3 separate regions of the Homo sapiens genome follow, and all the other regions are linked to region 3. Evidence: promoter capture Hi-C in 16 types of primary human blood cells and fetal thymus (Javierre and others, 2016). All regions are on one chromosome and are shown on one strand. Each heading gives the region's core, a stretch centred on a gene start or on the middle of the fragment in contact. The rest is flanking DNA. Distances are from core to core; before and after follow the strand shown. Region 1 has its middle 48 kb from the start of HSD17B10. Region 2 overlaps SMC1A (structural maintenance of chromosomes 1A). Region 3 holds the start of HSD17B10 (hydroxysteroid 17-beta dehydrogenase 10).

Region 1 (4,678 bases), core at 20-2,519, 49 kb before region 3:
ACACCAACTCCTGTTGCTTTGCCTCCTCTCCTTCAATCCATGCCTATGATATCACAGAGTGTTCCTATGACCACTTGACTGAGGAAGGAAAACTGAAGCCTACCTTATATATGGGTCTGCATGTTATACTGGTACCATCCAAAAGTAGACAGATGCAGCACTACAACTGTACTCAGGGGTGACTGGATGACAATGGTGAAGGAAGATCCTCTCCAGTGGGCAGAACACTGAACAGTATGTTTAGTTGTCCACTATGTGTGGAGTAAGAGATAGTCAGAAGTATAGATCTACACTGACATGTAGTTAGGGACTTGAAAAGAACAAGATTGAAAGATTGGCGACAAGGAAGTCTGAGGAAGAGAAATGTGACCAGCCTTCTCTGAGTGGGGACAGACTGAAGATATTTGAGTCCTATGTGAATGCCCACCAAAAGGCATACATTGCATAGGAGACTGTTATGAATCCAGGGGACAAAATGATGTGGTCTGTTGATGTGCATCAGCCTCTTTCACCAGCCACTCCAGTATTTGCTCAATGGGCCCATAAAGAAATAGGCCATGGGCAGGGACAGAGACTATGCCTGGGCTCAACAACATGGACTTCCCCTTACCAAGGGTGGCATGGTTGCTGAGTGCCTAATCTGCCAACAGCATCAACCAAAATTGAGTCCCTGATATGGCACTATTCCCTATGGGGACCAGCCAACCACCTGGTGACAGGTTGATTACATTGGAAGTCTTCCATCATGGAGGGGGACAGAGATTCAGTCTCACAGAAACAGATGTATTTTCTGGATATAGTTTTCCCTACTCTGCCCATAATCCTTGTGCCAGCACTACCATCTGTAGACTCTTCTGCACGGCTTTGCTTCTGGTTCGCAGCAAAGTAAGTGCAGCAATGGACTCATGCCTATGGAATTAACTGGTCTTACCACATACCACATCATGTTAGAGTAGCTGGCCTACTTGAAGGGTGAAATGGCTTACTGAAACTTGGTTTTGATGCCAGTTGGGAAATAACATCTTGAAACAATGGTATACTATTTTTTGGAATGTAATATATACTTTGAGCTAGAGACTATTATACAGCACTATCTCTCCCATAGCCAGAATAAATGGGTCCTGAAACCAAGGGGTAGAAGTAGGAGTAGCTCCTCTCATTATTACAACTAATAACCTACTCACAGAATTTTTGCTTCCTGTCTCAGCAATTTTGAGCTTTGCTAGTTTGGAGATCTTAGTCCTCAAAGGGAGACTGTTTCTTCCAGGGGACACAACAATAATTCCAGTGAATTGGAAAGTGAAAAATGTGTGACATTTTGGGCTCCTTATGCCAATGAAACCACAAGCCAAAAAAGGGGATGAGGTAAGACTTAATTTACTGGCTCGAGTGATTGATCCTAATTACCAAGTGGAAGTTGAGCTGTTGCTACACAAGGGAGGCAAAGAGGACCATGTTTGCAACCCGGAGAATTATCTGGGGTGCCTCTTAGTACTTCCATGCCTAATAGTAAAGTTTTGTTATTGTTGTTGTTGTTGTTTGTTTTGTTTTTTGTTTTGAGACGGAGCCTTACTCTGTCACCCAGGCTGGAGTACAGTGGCACGATCTTGGCTCACTGCAACTTCCGTCTCCCGGGTTCAAGTGATTATCCTGCCTCAGGCTCCTGAGTAGCTGGGACTACAGGCGCATGCCACCACGCTTGGCTAATTTTTGTATTTTTAGTAGAAACGGGGTTTTGCCATGTTGGTCTCAAACTCTTGACCTTAGGTGATCTGCCTGCCTTGGCCTCCCAAAGTGCTGGGATTACAGGTGTGAGCCACCGTGCCTGGCCCCCATAGTAAAGATTAATGGTTAAACTCCATTAAAAGGTTAAACTCTAGTAACTCAAAACAGGCAGGATGATCAAGTACTCAGACCCTTCCAGAATGAAAGTTTGGGTGACTCCTTCAGGTAGAAAAGAGCATCTGAGGTTCTGAATGAAGGCAGGGGAAATGCAGAATGGATAATAACAGAAGAAGGAAGCCATAGATGTCAATTACAGCCTTGAGATCAATTACAGAAATGAGTACTATATTACCTTTCCTCATTTGCCTTCTGCTTGTTATATGTATGTGTTTATTTGCATAATCTAGCCATGTTCTTTTTCTCTTTTTCCCATTTTTATTTTATATACAAGAAGTTGGAAGGTAATTTTACAATTTACTCTTTAGGTACTAGGATATCAGCAGGACCATGGCTAAATTTGAGGAGTAATTAATACAGAAAGTGATGTGTCTTCTCATTTGGGTGAAAGGGTAACAACTTCCTCCCTTGTAAGAAGGATAGCTATATCTTGTTGGGTAGGAGTAAAGTTGTGTTATTCTCTTTTTTTTGAGACAGAGTATTGCACTGTCACCCAAGCTGGAGTGCAATGGCGGGATCATAGCTCACTATAACCTCAAACTCCTGGCCTCGAATGATCCTCCCACCTCGCCCAAGCTGTTTTGTTGTACAAGAATTCAAATATGTGCACATGAAAGCCAAGAAGTCAAAGGGGTGGACTGTACCACTTACCAATTTTTACCTCTCAGCTTCAAATTCACTCTTCTGCCTGCTCTGTGAAAACAGATCTGGTCCCTTTACTTGTTTCCTTTGCCACCTGGCACTGAAGCTTTGCCAGTAGAGGGCACTGGAGAGACATTTCAAGAAGGAAAAAGGTTTTGCTTCCCGGTGCTGGAGTGCCCACTTTGCAGGTTACTGCAGTGTCTGCAGCTTTCTATAGCAACAGAGTCCTACAACTTCTCCAGTGCCTGGCTCCCACAGTGTGTGGTGACCAGCAGCACCCAGTAGCCAGCAGCCTCCCTCTGGAATTCCCCATCAGATGGGTTAGTAGCAGTTTGCCTCTGGCTCCTGAAGGACTCACAGCTTCTCCATTTTCCAGCTTTTGTAGTGCAGGGCAGCCAACAGCACCCAGTAGCCAGCAACATCCCCTGGCACTCTCCCTCAGGTAGTTTTGTGGCAGAGTGCCTCCAGTGAGACACCTCCCCATGAACAGCTTTCACTGGCACTCTAGATGGTGGATTTCTGGCAAGTTCCAGCAAGCAGATTTCCAGCAAATTCTGCCATTCAAAGAGTCACAGCCGTATTCTCTCCAAGGACTGATCTCAACCCTGAACTAAGGTGGGTGCAGGGACAACAGGGAAGGGTCTTCCTTTGGTGCTCGATTTCAGTCATACTCATGCTTTCCTATGCCTTTTTTTTTTTTAAGAGAGAGAGACAGGGTCTCACTCTGTCACCCAGGCTGGAGTACAGCAGAGCTGTGATCACAGCTCACTGCAGCCTCAAACTCCTGGGCTCACATGATCCCCCTGCCTCAGCCTCCCGAGTAGCTAGGACTACAGGCACATGCCACCATTCCCCGCTCCTATACCTTCTTGAATGTATGGAATATATTTATAACAGCTGTTTTCACGTCCTTTTTCTACTCATTCTATCATCTGGATCATTTCTGGGTCATGTTCTGTGGATTATTTTTCCCCTCATTATGGGTTGTATTTTCCTGTTTCTTTGCATGCTTGATAATTTTTTATTGGGCGTCAGATGTAAATATTGAAACGGGAAAAGTTCCCTATCCCCTTAGCAGGGTGTGAGAGCGGGGTGTGGCTCGCTTCTTTGGTGCACCACTGCTCAAACCTCTAGGGGGAGCATGCAGATGGGCAGGTTGTGGGGCTCCAGCCCCACGGCAGTGTCTAGGAGTGAATGTTTACAGCTGAAGCCCCAGTGGGCATGTGTTACAGAATGCTCTTTTAGTTTTGCTGTCTGTAGGCAGTTTGTGTTAATCAGCTCAATTAGACCCTTTGCCTTATCCCAAGGACAGAGGGCTTTCTGTATCCCAGGGTTCTTGCCTTGGTGTACTGGAAGAACCGGATCACATGTGGGCTTGGAGAAAGAGTGCAAGGTTTTTTATTGAGTGGTGGTAGCTCTCAGCAAGGTGGATAGGGAGGCCAGAAGGGGGATACAGTGGGAAGGTGGTTTTCTCCTGGAGTTGGGCCGCCCAGCAGCCAGACTCTCCTCCAACCCCCAGCCAAACTCCGTGTCATTCCACCAGTTGATGGCCTGCCGGCATCTGCCGGTGCCTGTTGGTGTGCTCTTCTGCAGGTGTGCTCTTCTTGATGTCCAGCTGTTTGTGTCTGTGCCCCCTAGGGTCTCGGGGTTTTTATAGGCGCAGGATGGGGGCGTGACAGGCCAGGGTGGTCTTGGGAAATGCAACATTTGGGCATAAAAACAGAAATGCCTGTTCTTACCTAGGTCCGTGGGCACAACCCCAGGGTGGGACCCCTAGCCAGGGACCCACCCTTCTCTACCCAGCACTTCCCTACCCCACTCCCATATCAATATTACCTTATTGGGTGCTGACTTTTTTGTACTTAAAAATTTTTTTGTTTTGTTTTTGGCCGGGCATGGTGGTTCATGCCTGTAATCCCTGCACTTTGGGAGGCTACTAAGGGGGCTGAGGCAGGAGAATAGCTTGAACCTGGGAGGTGGAGGTTGCAGTGAGCTGAGATCATGCCACTCCAGCCTGGGCGACAGAGTGAGACCCTATCTTAAAAAAAAAAAATTTGTTTTGGTCTAAGACACAATTAATCAATTTGATCTTTTTGAGGCTTGTTTTTAAGGTTTTTTGTTGTTTGTTTGTTTT
Region 2 (4,840 bases), core at 362-2,861, 58 kb after region 3:
ACGATGTTTTTGAGATCTGTGCATGTTACTTAATGTAGCTCAATCCATCTTCTGTAATTGCTGTATAGATTGTCATCATATGATTACCACATTTTACTTACGCATTTCTTTTGTGATGGACATTAAGACTGTTTTTAGGTTTTGCTATTACAAAATACTACACAGGAGCATCACTATGCCTGTGTGAAAGTATATGTATGAAAGTTTACCTAGGGTTGATTCCTAGAAGTGGAATTGCAAAGTCATAGGATATTTATATATTGGTTTTTAATAATACTTCCAAATTGCCCTCCTGTACTATTTACTCAGTATTTTTCTTGAGGTTGATCTGAGGTCTAACATTGTTATCCTATATCATTTTCATCCCAAGTAGTGATATCTGTGAAATCACAGGTTTGATGTGTGCTAATTATGTATTCTTCTAATACATATTAAAAGACATAACTATCAAAACAAAATAAATTTGTCTGTTTTCAACCAAAGAAGTCACGTACCACTGGTGGTACTGTGTGCCATAATTTGGCAAATGCTGGCCTTTATGGACGAGCACAATTCGGGGGTCAGACCTGGTTCAAATTCTAGCTGTAGAAACTTGTGCAAGTTACTTCACCTCTGAGCCTAAGTTTCCACATCTGTAAAAGGAGATAATAAACACCTACCTTGCAGTAGTGAAGCAAAGAGAAAATTAAATATATATGAAGCAATTTGGCTGGCATCTAGATCATTCACAGCCCTTTAAAGGTCACCTTTGCTGTTCTCCCCACTTTACAGATAAGGAAACTGAGGCCCAAAAAGGTTTGAACCCAGGTCTTCCAAGTCATTCAAGTGCTTTCTCCACTGTACAGGTGGTTATCAACCTTGGCTGCGCATCAGAATCGTTTGTAAAGCTTTTTCTTTTTCCTTTTTAAAAAGTAAAGCAATATATACACAGGTAAAAAAATAAAATAGTACAGAAGGGCTTATAATGAGAAGCAGCAGTTCCCTGCTTGCACCCCCACATCCAAAGGATGTGGAGCTCTTTAAAAATAAATTGCTCTGGTCCCACCTCTGGAAATCTGATTCAGCCAGCATGGATAATAACCCAGATAACTAACCCCTACCTCACAGGATAAAAAGGATTACATGAGATGCCTTAGGCTAAGGCCCTGGCACACAGGAACACATGTGCTACAAAGGAGCTTTGGGGACTTAAGTCCTGAGGATCCAGGAGGTGAGGTGACTTGTCCAAGATTCCACTGGTTTAGTGGCAGAGCCTAGACTTCCACTCGGATCTATTTAGTGCTTGCCCCCTGCTCTCTCCTGTCGTGCCCCACCACCTCCTGGCATCACAGGGCAACCGTTGTCAAGGCTATGCTCACGGGAGGCTGGGCACCACAGTGTTTCCAAGAGCAAGCTGGATCCGAGTAGATTCCCTAGGGCTTGTTGGAGGAACTAGTTTGACTCCCTTATACTGTGGACGCAGTAGCCTTGCTGTAGGGAGTTGAAGAGTACTCCACAACAGTATCTTAAGTTTAACTGGGCACTTCCCTCTGGAAATCACAGTGTTGTGCACCAGGAACACAAAGATGAGTCAAATCTTTATCCTGCCTTTGAGGAGCTCACTGTTTAGTTGGGGAAACCATTTGTAAAACAGCCATTAACCATACAGTGTGATCAACACTGACAGGAGCACAGGAAAAACATCTAGCTTATGTGAAGATTCAGAGAAGGCATCCTGTAGTCTAGGTGGTGATACCTGAACTGAGTCTTGAGGGACGGGTAGGAATTAGCCAGTTGAGGAAGTAGAAGGAATTTCCAGATATTGGAAACAGTATGCATGAAGACATGAAGGCAAGAAACAGCAAAACAAATACTGAAGCATGAAGATTCCTGGGGTGGGGGGAAAGCAGCAAGAAAAGGTAGAGAGGAACCAGATTGGAAGAGGGTCGTAAATGCATGGCTACAGAATTCAGATTTGTTTTGTAGGACAGTGTGGTTCCCAAACTGGCTGTATACCACAAACAGGTACGGCATTCTGGGCCCCGGCCCCTAAAACATTCATTAAGTCTGGGGTGAAGATTTGGAATCTTGAATGCTTATAAAGGTTACCACATGACTAGGGTACAGCCAGATTTGGAAACCATAGCTTGAAGGCAGTGAGGGAGCCATGAAATGGTTTTTAATAGGGGGACTCCAGATCAGATGTGAACTTAACCTGTTTCTGGCTGGCTAGCCAACCAGCATGGAAAACAGATTAGGTTAGATGTTCATGCTGTATGTGCCCGTGCCTGTAGCTTCCCTGTTAATCAGCTTCTTACACTACTATATTTGCTTATTTTGTCTCTGAATAAGCTTTAGGCACCACAAGGGTGGGCCTGGGGATATTTTGCTTACCAGTATAGCCCCTGCAAAAAAGCACAGTGCCTGACACAAAACAGGCACCCAGTAAAGTTTTTGAATGAATGAATGCATGAGTGAATCCATTTGTGAGAGAGCGAATGGAGATGACAAGATTAGCTAGGAGACTGGAAAAAGACCAGGAGGCCTGCACTAGGGCAAAGGCCAGTAGGAATAGATTGGAGGTGTTAAGGTGTGAACTGTTAAGGTAAGATGATAACTTAATGACTGATTATTGGATGTGGAGGGTGACTGAGAGGATAGAATGAGTACCCATGAATAGCCATGATTCCTACCCTGTCCCAGTCATCTCTTTCCTTATCCATCTCTGAAACAATCTGCTTACATCCTCCTCAGCAACTGGAATTCCTCAAGTTAGTTAGACATTCTGTGTGCTGTGTGGTCTCTCACTGCCCCCCCACTCCCCACCCCTCCACAAGCCATTGATTCATTCATCCAGTTCAATAAATCTTGGCTAAGCACCTCCAGTGTGCAGTAAGGCTCTTCCAAGCCAGGACTCTGACTCCCTCTTTCCTACCTCAAGAGATGTTTTTGAGGGCTTTCCCAGGTAAGAGTCACATCTCTTATACAATAACTTATAGTGAGATACCCAGAATGTCAGACTTGTAAGGGAAGACTGCCCAAACCCCTTCTGAGGTCCTCAGAGGGGAATTAACTTCCTAAGGTCCGACTGCTAGGAAGTGTTGGAGCCAGAAATGGAAGCTAGGTTTCCTTTCTATGTCATCTCTGGAGTCTTGATCTTGATCTATCCCATTGTAGATCAGGACAGGCAGAGGTGGTCAGGGAGAAGGTGGGACTTAGGTTGAACCTTGAAGGTCAATGTATTGGACAGGTCAAACAAGATGGTTGCCAATTACACTGCCCCCTTCTGGAAACCCTTAGCAAACCTGCCATGCTTGCAGTCCCTTCTAAGGGGTTTCCTTAGCATAAGTTGCCATGCTCTGTACCATGTGACCTCACAATCCTGGCCACAGATAGCTAGATGTGGATAGTGTCTGGTTCAAGGGCAACCAATCTCTAGGCTGGCCAGTGGCCTGTTAGCTGGACTGGCATAAGGACTTCACCTTACAGGGGTGGCATGTATCAAATGGCAAATGTATGAAACAACCAGATCTTTCAGGGAGGCAGAATGTGAGCTATTCAGAAGAAGTGAACGTTAATTAGAATTTAATGAGGCATTAGTGGTGGTGGATGAGGGGTGGCCAGAAACTAAACAGCAAAAGCAAAGAGAAAGCTGCAGAAACCATAAGTAAGCAGAGGTCATGAGACATTTGTATAATGAGATCACGGAGCCACAGGGTGGCAGAAGCCATGAAGCAGCAAGGCAACAATGGGCTAGAAGCCATGAAGCAATAGGAGCCACGAGGAACAGAAACCGTGAGACAAAACTGACTATGAGATCCACAAAGCAGCAGAAGGCTTGAATAGATAAGATCATGAGACAGTAGAAGCGATGAGACTGCAAGAACCACAAGGTAGCCAGAACCATGTGGCAACATGGCAACAGGAATGGAAGAGGCAGCAGGAGCTACAATGCAGAAAAGCCATGGATTAATAGGAACTGAAGCGCCGGGAGCCATGAAGCTGCAGGACCCATGAGGCAGAAAAAGCCATGGGCTAGCATCGAGGGGGGCAGAAAGAAGTTAGTCAGTAGCAGTAGGAGGAGTATAAATACAGCCAGAAAGGAGTTGAGTCACCAATTTGGGAAGCACTAGAGAAGGGAGCAACAGATGCCTGCAGCTGAGGGGGTGACAAGATAAGCCAGGCTCTAGAGCTGCTTTGGATCATGAACCATTTTCAAGTTTCTGTTCTTCCATGAGGCTGCCTGTGTAGCTGTTCTTGTCTTCCTTATTTCCCTGTGAATGCTTTAATAAATCCCCATCACTAACCTGTGTGTGTCTTTGTTCCTTGGAATCTAAAAGGTTAACACTGGTGTGCAGTTTAGATAACAGGAAAGCAGGGCAAGAGGTCTTCCTGGTGGGGTTGAAGCAAGACACAGAGGTGGGAATTCACTCATCCTTTCCTGCCTCACTGGCATGGGCACCTTTCATTCACTTACTTATTTTTATCATTCATTCATCCACTCATTTATTTATTACCTTATATATGCACTAACTCACAACTTCACTCACTTATTCATTAATGCATTAATGTAAGCATTTACCAGTTCATTTGCTCTTTCCTGTATTCACTCATGCATCATTTTTCCATCCATTTGTTCAGCAGGCATATGTTAAATTCCTGTCATGTGTCAGGCCCTGTGCTAGGTTCTGGGAATTAGATATACATGCCCTCCAGGAATTCTTGGCTTAATTGGGAACTCAGATAAGTAAGTGGTTAAGCACACTAAGTGTGGAAGATGATATAATGGACGTCTAGGTGAGGCAAAGTGAGCATATAGGAAGTATTAGGTGGTTCTCCCTGGGGTGGGAAAGCCTTTATA
Region 3 (4,512 bases), core at 1,931-4,430:
GAAGTTCAGAGAGCTCCCTCTAAACACAGTTCTTAACCCACAATCCAAAAGACCCCTGAGGAGTCAGTGAATAGAATTCAAAGAGCCCATGGACTTGGATAGAGGGGAAATTGCATCATTATTTTCACTATTACTAACAGAAATATAGCATATCCTTCCAGGGGATGTGGGTAACAAACTGCAGTAATATTAGCACCTGTGACTTTGACACTAAGAGAGATCAGATTTTCATTATTACGGTTGTTGCATATCTCTCAAAATAACATCACTATTTCAAAAATCATGGTTGTCACTAGACCTGTTGATAGAGCTTGCTATTTAATGTGTTAATAAAGAAGCACATATATTACTACATTACAGGTGCGTTTCCTTTTATTTTGAAAATTGTACCCCAATATAATTGGTTTCTTTTGTAATCCTACTTATAGGACGCATGCATTATTCTGGGAAGGGGTTCCTAAGACTTCACCAGACTCCCATAGGTGTCCGTAGCATAGAAAAGGATGAGAAACACTGCTCTGAAGAGTAACCATAGCTAACACTTATATAGCTCTTGCTAAAGGCCAAGCACTGTTCCAAGTCCTTTTTAAATACATAGTTGTTAACTCATTTATTCCTAACAACCCTACGAATAGTCATTTGTTTATACTCATTTTACAGAAGAGGAAACTGAGGCACATCAGTTAAGTAACTTGTCCAGGGTCATTCGGCTAGTAAATAATAGAGCTGAGGCTGGGCGCGATGGCTCATGCCTGTAATCCCAACACTTTGGGAGGCTGAGGCAGGGCGGATCACCTGAGGTCAGGAGTTCAACACCAGACTGGCCAACATGGTAAAATCCCATCTCTACTAAAAATACAAAAATTAGCCAGGCGTGGTGGCCCATGCCTGTAATTTCAGCTACTCTGGAAGCTGAGGCAGGAGAATTGCTTGCACCCAGGAAGCGGAGGTTGCAGTGAGCCAAGATGCGCCACTGCACTCCAGCCTGGGCAGCGGGAGACTCCATCTCAAAAAAAAAAAAAAAAGCGGTAGAGGGGAAGAGATCCAAGACAACTCGAGAACATGGTCAGAGAGAGAAAAGATGGTGTGTAGATGCTGGGGAGGGCAGGAGGTTATTCCAGGGAATGACAAGTGCAATAAGGTGGCCTGGACAGGTGGTTAAAGTAGAGAGGAGGTGAAGGTTCCCGGAGTTGGGCAGGTGAAAGAATCATGAAACTGTGCCTGGAAATTCTTCCAAGATTAATTCATTAATTCATTTATTTCACACATTTGTTTTAAGTGTCTTGTACACGCCAAGCAGTGTTCTCGGCATTAGGTGAACCAGCTGGACAAGCCCCTGGTGCCATGGGGCTTACCTTCCAGCAGGGGGAGAACTACACAAACAAGGCCAGGTTAGCGGAGCATGCAGGCTCACAAGCCTGTAGGCACAATCCTGCAATGCCAAAACTTCTGAAAAGCATAAGGTTGTTTTTTCATACTTTGGAGCCCAAACTCAATAGATGACAAAACCTGACCTGAAGTAGTGTGAGGCTATTTATAGTCTTTATTCACACTTGGTGTGAATTTTCATACCTTTCACTTCAGAAATATTAATATTTCATTACGATGCTCCAGGCTTTTCTCAATAGTTATATAATATAGACTATACAAAAAGTTATGTTTGACTAGTTTTTTTAAAGAGTTATGTAATATAAATTACATGTCTTCCTTTCTCAAATTGAAAAAAACTCTGAATTCCACAGCACATCTGGCCCTAAGGTTGGAAAATGGATTACGGACATGCAAGTGCTATGAAGATAATTCAAATATGCAATGGGATAGTGTCTAGGTGGCTACAGTTTGAATATTTAGGGAGGACCCCTCTGGGAAGGTGATATTTAAGCTTAGTTCTGAATGAAAAAAAATAAAAGCAGTCATGCAAAGATCAGGGGAGAGCATTCCAAGCAGAGGGAGCAGCTAATGCAAAGATGAACACAAAGGAGGCCACTGTGGCTACAGCATATTGGGCCGGATGAAGAGTGCTATAAATTGATGGAAGCACTTCATGTAGATAGGAAAATTGTGAGACCGGTGTGCTAAATCCTTTGGTAAATACGGTGTAGTGATTATGAGTGTGGTGGCTGTCAACAACTAGAAGGCCTGGAGGGGAATCTTCCTGGGTGAGAAAGCAAGTGGGGGGAGATATTTCAGATAGAGAAAACATAAAGCAGTTCTGAGGCTGAAATGGTGGGCTAAGATTTATGGCCTGAAGACCTTGGTTTGAGGAAAAGTATAGAAGGAAGACAGATTAGATATCTGGGCTCAAGACTCTAATGACATAGCTTCTGGAAGCTGCCTGAAAGATGTTCTAGGATGACAAAGACCTGGGTCTTAAATAATAGTCTCTGGTTGAAGTCCAATCTGCAGTGTGTGATCTGGGCTTTTGGACTTAAATTAGACAAAGATAGAGGAGAGTAGCAAAGCCTGAACTGATGAAAGATGTTTTTGCCTCTTTAGGTTTGTGCTTCTCAGCAGCTGTCCTAGAATGTCTGTCTCCAAGCATCTCTCTTAGCGGCTTTCCACATTCATCTCTCTGTGATCCTACCTGGCATCTCTCTTCCTATCTCGGCCTCAACATATTTCTCTTTACATGGCTCTCTCTCTCTCTAACTCAGACTCCTCATCTTTGGATCTCCTTGTCTGAGTGTCCCAGAATCTGGTTCCGTCCATTCGTCTGTGTCTGTACTGTAATTCTCTTTCTCCACCTGGACTGTGCCCTCCTGGAAGGCATGAATCTTTTATTATTCCGCTGGGTATCCCAGGTGCCCCGCACACCGTCTAGCATATAGGAGTCTCAAATACATTCATACTTGAATTAAGACTTTTTCAGAGGAGAAAGGCATCCGTTCTCAATATCCACCCCTCTTCCCCCACGCGGAGCAGGCCACTTGCCAAAAGGCCAGCTAGAGAGTAGGGCGAGGGGTGTTGTGGTATTGTACTTCTGCTATTGGTCTCTTTCCCCAGTTGAAATAACTCTGGGGATACCTTAGCAGGCGGAATCCGCCCTCTGGCCAAAGGACTAGCGTACCAGGCCACGCCCCCACGTCTCATGCGGCAGCGGCAGACGCCCCGGCCCGTCGCATCCGCCCCTTCCGCCGCTTCGCCTCGGCCAATCAACGAGCGCCCGCGCCCCCATCCCCATCCCGTGGAGTGGCCGGCGACAAGATGGCAGCAGCGTGTCGGAGCGTGAAGGTAGAAGGTTCTTTGCCTCTGTTGCTTGCCTTCCTTTACGGGCCGGGACAGCGCGGCCGTGGAACTAGGAGAAAGAGATCGGTTTCGAGGGAAAGGGTCATGCTTATGTAGGCCTGGTATTGTGGCCGTTGGGCTCAAGAGGTGAAAGTCAGCACTCCGCGGCGCATCTGTCTGTCTGTCTGTCTGTCTATCTATCTATCTATCAATCATCTATCTATCTATCGTCACGGGACGGGCTGTCTGGGGATGAGATCCCTTCTGCCCCCGAGGTCCCAACGCTGAGGAGAAGCAGCACACCTAGTTTACCCGCAGGGGTGACCACGACCTCTCCCCTCCCCCCTTCTCCTCAGAAGCCTGGAGAACAGGCAGGCGACAGCGTGGGGATGGTCTGGGCAATGTAACAGCTGACCCTGACCATGTCCCTTTTGACAGGGCCTGGTGGCGGTAATAACCGGAGGAGCCTCGGGCCTGGGCCTGGCCACGGCGGAGCGACTTGTGGGGCAGGGAGCCTCTGCTGTGCTTCTGGACCTGCCCAACTCGGGTGGGGAGGCCCAAGCCAAGAAGTTAGGAAACAACTGCGTTTTCGCCCCAGCCGACGTAAGTGGGGTCACCTCTCCTCTCCCAGGGTGTGCATGAGGTCACCAACACCGGCCTGGGAACCTGTGGGGGTCCCTCCCATAAGGGTCTCCTCTATGGGGGCGGTAGACCCATCTCCTTGTCTCTTTTGGCCTGAGCCTTCAAGCACTGTGGGACCACCTGTGATAAGGATTCTCTAAAGCTGGGATTCACAACAATGAGGATGGGGATTGGACGTAACAATCTCCTGGAGGAGTTATGTATGGTTTGAAAATGCATTTTGTGCCTTGTAATTTTATATTTACAAAGTCAAAAAACTTGTTTTCATGAAACAAACTACAGAAAGTGAAACTTGATGAAATCATCTTAGCAGGTAAGGATACAAAAAAGCTAGTTTATCTTCCTATCAATAATTCTCACAAGAGGGTTATTTTTTATTTTTATTTTTGAGATGGAGTCTCGCTCTGTTGCCCAGGCTGGAGTGCAGTGGCACAATCTCAGCTCCTTGCAACCTCCATCTTCTGGGTTCAAGCGATTTTCCTGCCTCAACCTCCCAAGTAGCTGGGATTACAGGCACCTGCCACCACGCCCAGCTAATTTTTTTTTTTGTATTTTTAGAAGAGATGGGGTTTCACCATGTTGGCCGGGCTGGTCTTGAACTCCTGATCTCACGTGATCCGCCCGCCTCGGCCTCCCAAAGTGCTG

Evidence for each region. Contacts are between HindIII fragments. The CHiCAGO score rates a contact against its expected background, and 5 or more counts as called.
Region 1: a contact is called between a fragment that was not itself captured here and the fragment with the promoter of HSD17B10 in region 3, in 1 of 17 cell types (M2 macrophages). The highest score is 5.7, in M2 macrophages.
Region 2: a fragment that was not itself captured here is called in contact with the fragment with the promoter of HSD17B10 in region 3 in 1 of 17 cell types (monocytes); the score reaches 5.5 in monocytes.

Annotation. Positions count from the first base shown.
Region 1 is chrX:53,480,278-53,484,955 of GRCh38, reverse strand. No RefSeq gene overlaps it. Among named protein-coding and RNA genes, the nearest start is that of HSD17B10, 48 kb to the right of the region's middle. The HindIII fragment of the contact is 2,766 bases long and covers 1-2,652 here.
Region 2 is chrX:53,373,594-53,378,433 of GRCh38, reverse strand. SMC1A (structural maintenance of chromosomes 1A) reads left to right here. Exons shown (of 25, transcript NM_006306.4): 25 at 1-4,285. Among named protein-coding and RNA genes, the nearest start is that of MIR6857, 30 kb to the left of the region's middle. The HindIII fragment of the contact is 1,444 bases long and covers 890-2,333 here.
Region 3 is chrX:53,433,038-53,437,549 of GRCh38, reverse strand. HSD17B10 (hydroxysteroid 17-beta dehydrogenase 10) reads left to right here and starts at 3,180. Exons shown (of 6, transcript NM_004493.3): 1 at 3,180-3,231; 2 at 3,664-3,828. The coding sequence starts at 3,205. The HindIII fragment of the contact is 11,572 bases long and covers 1,885-4,512 here.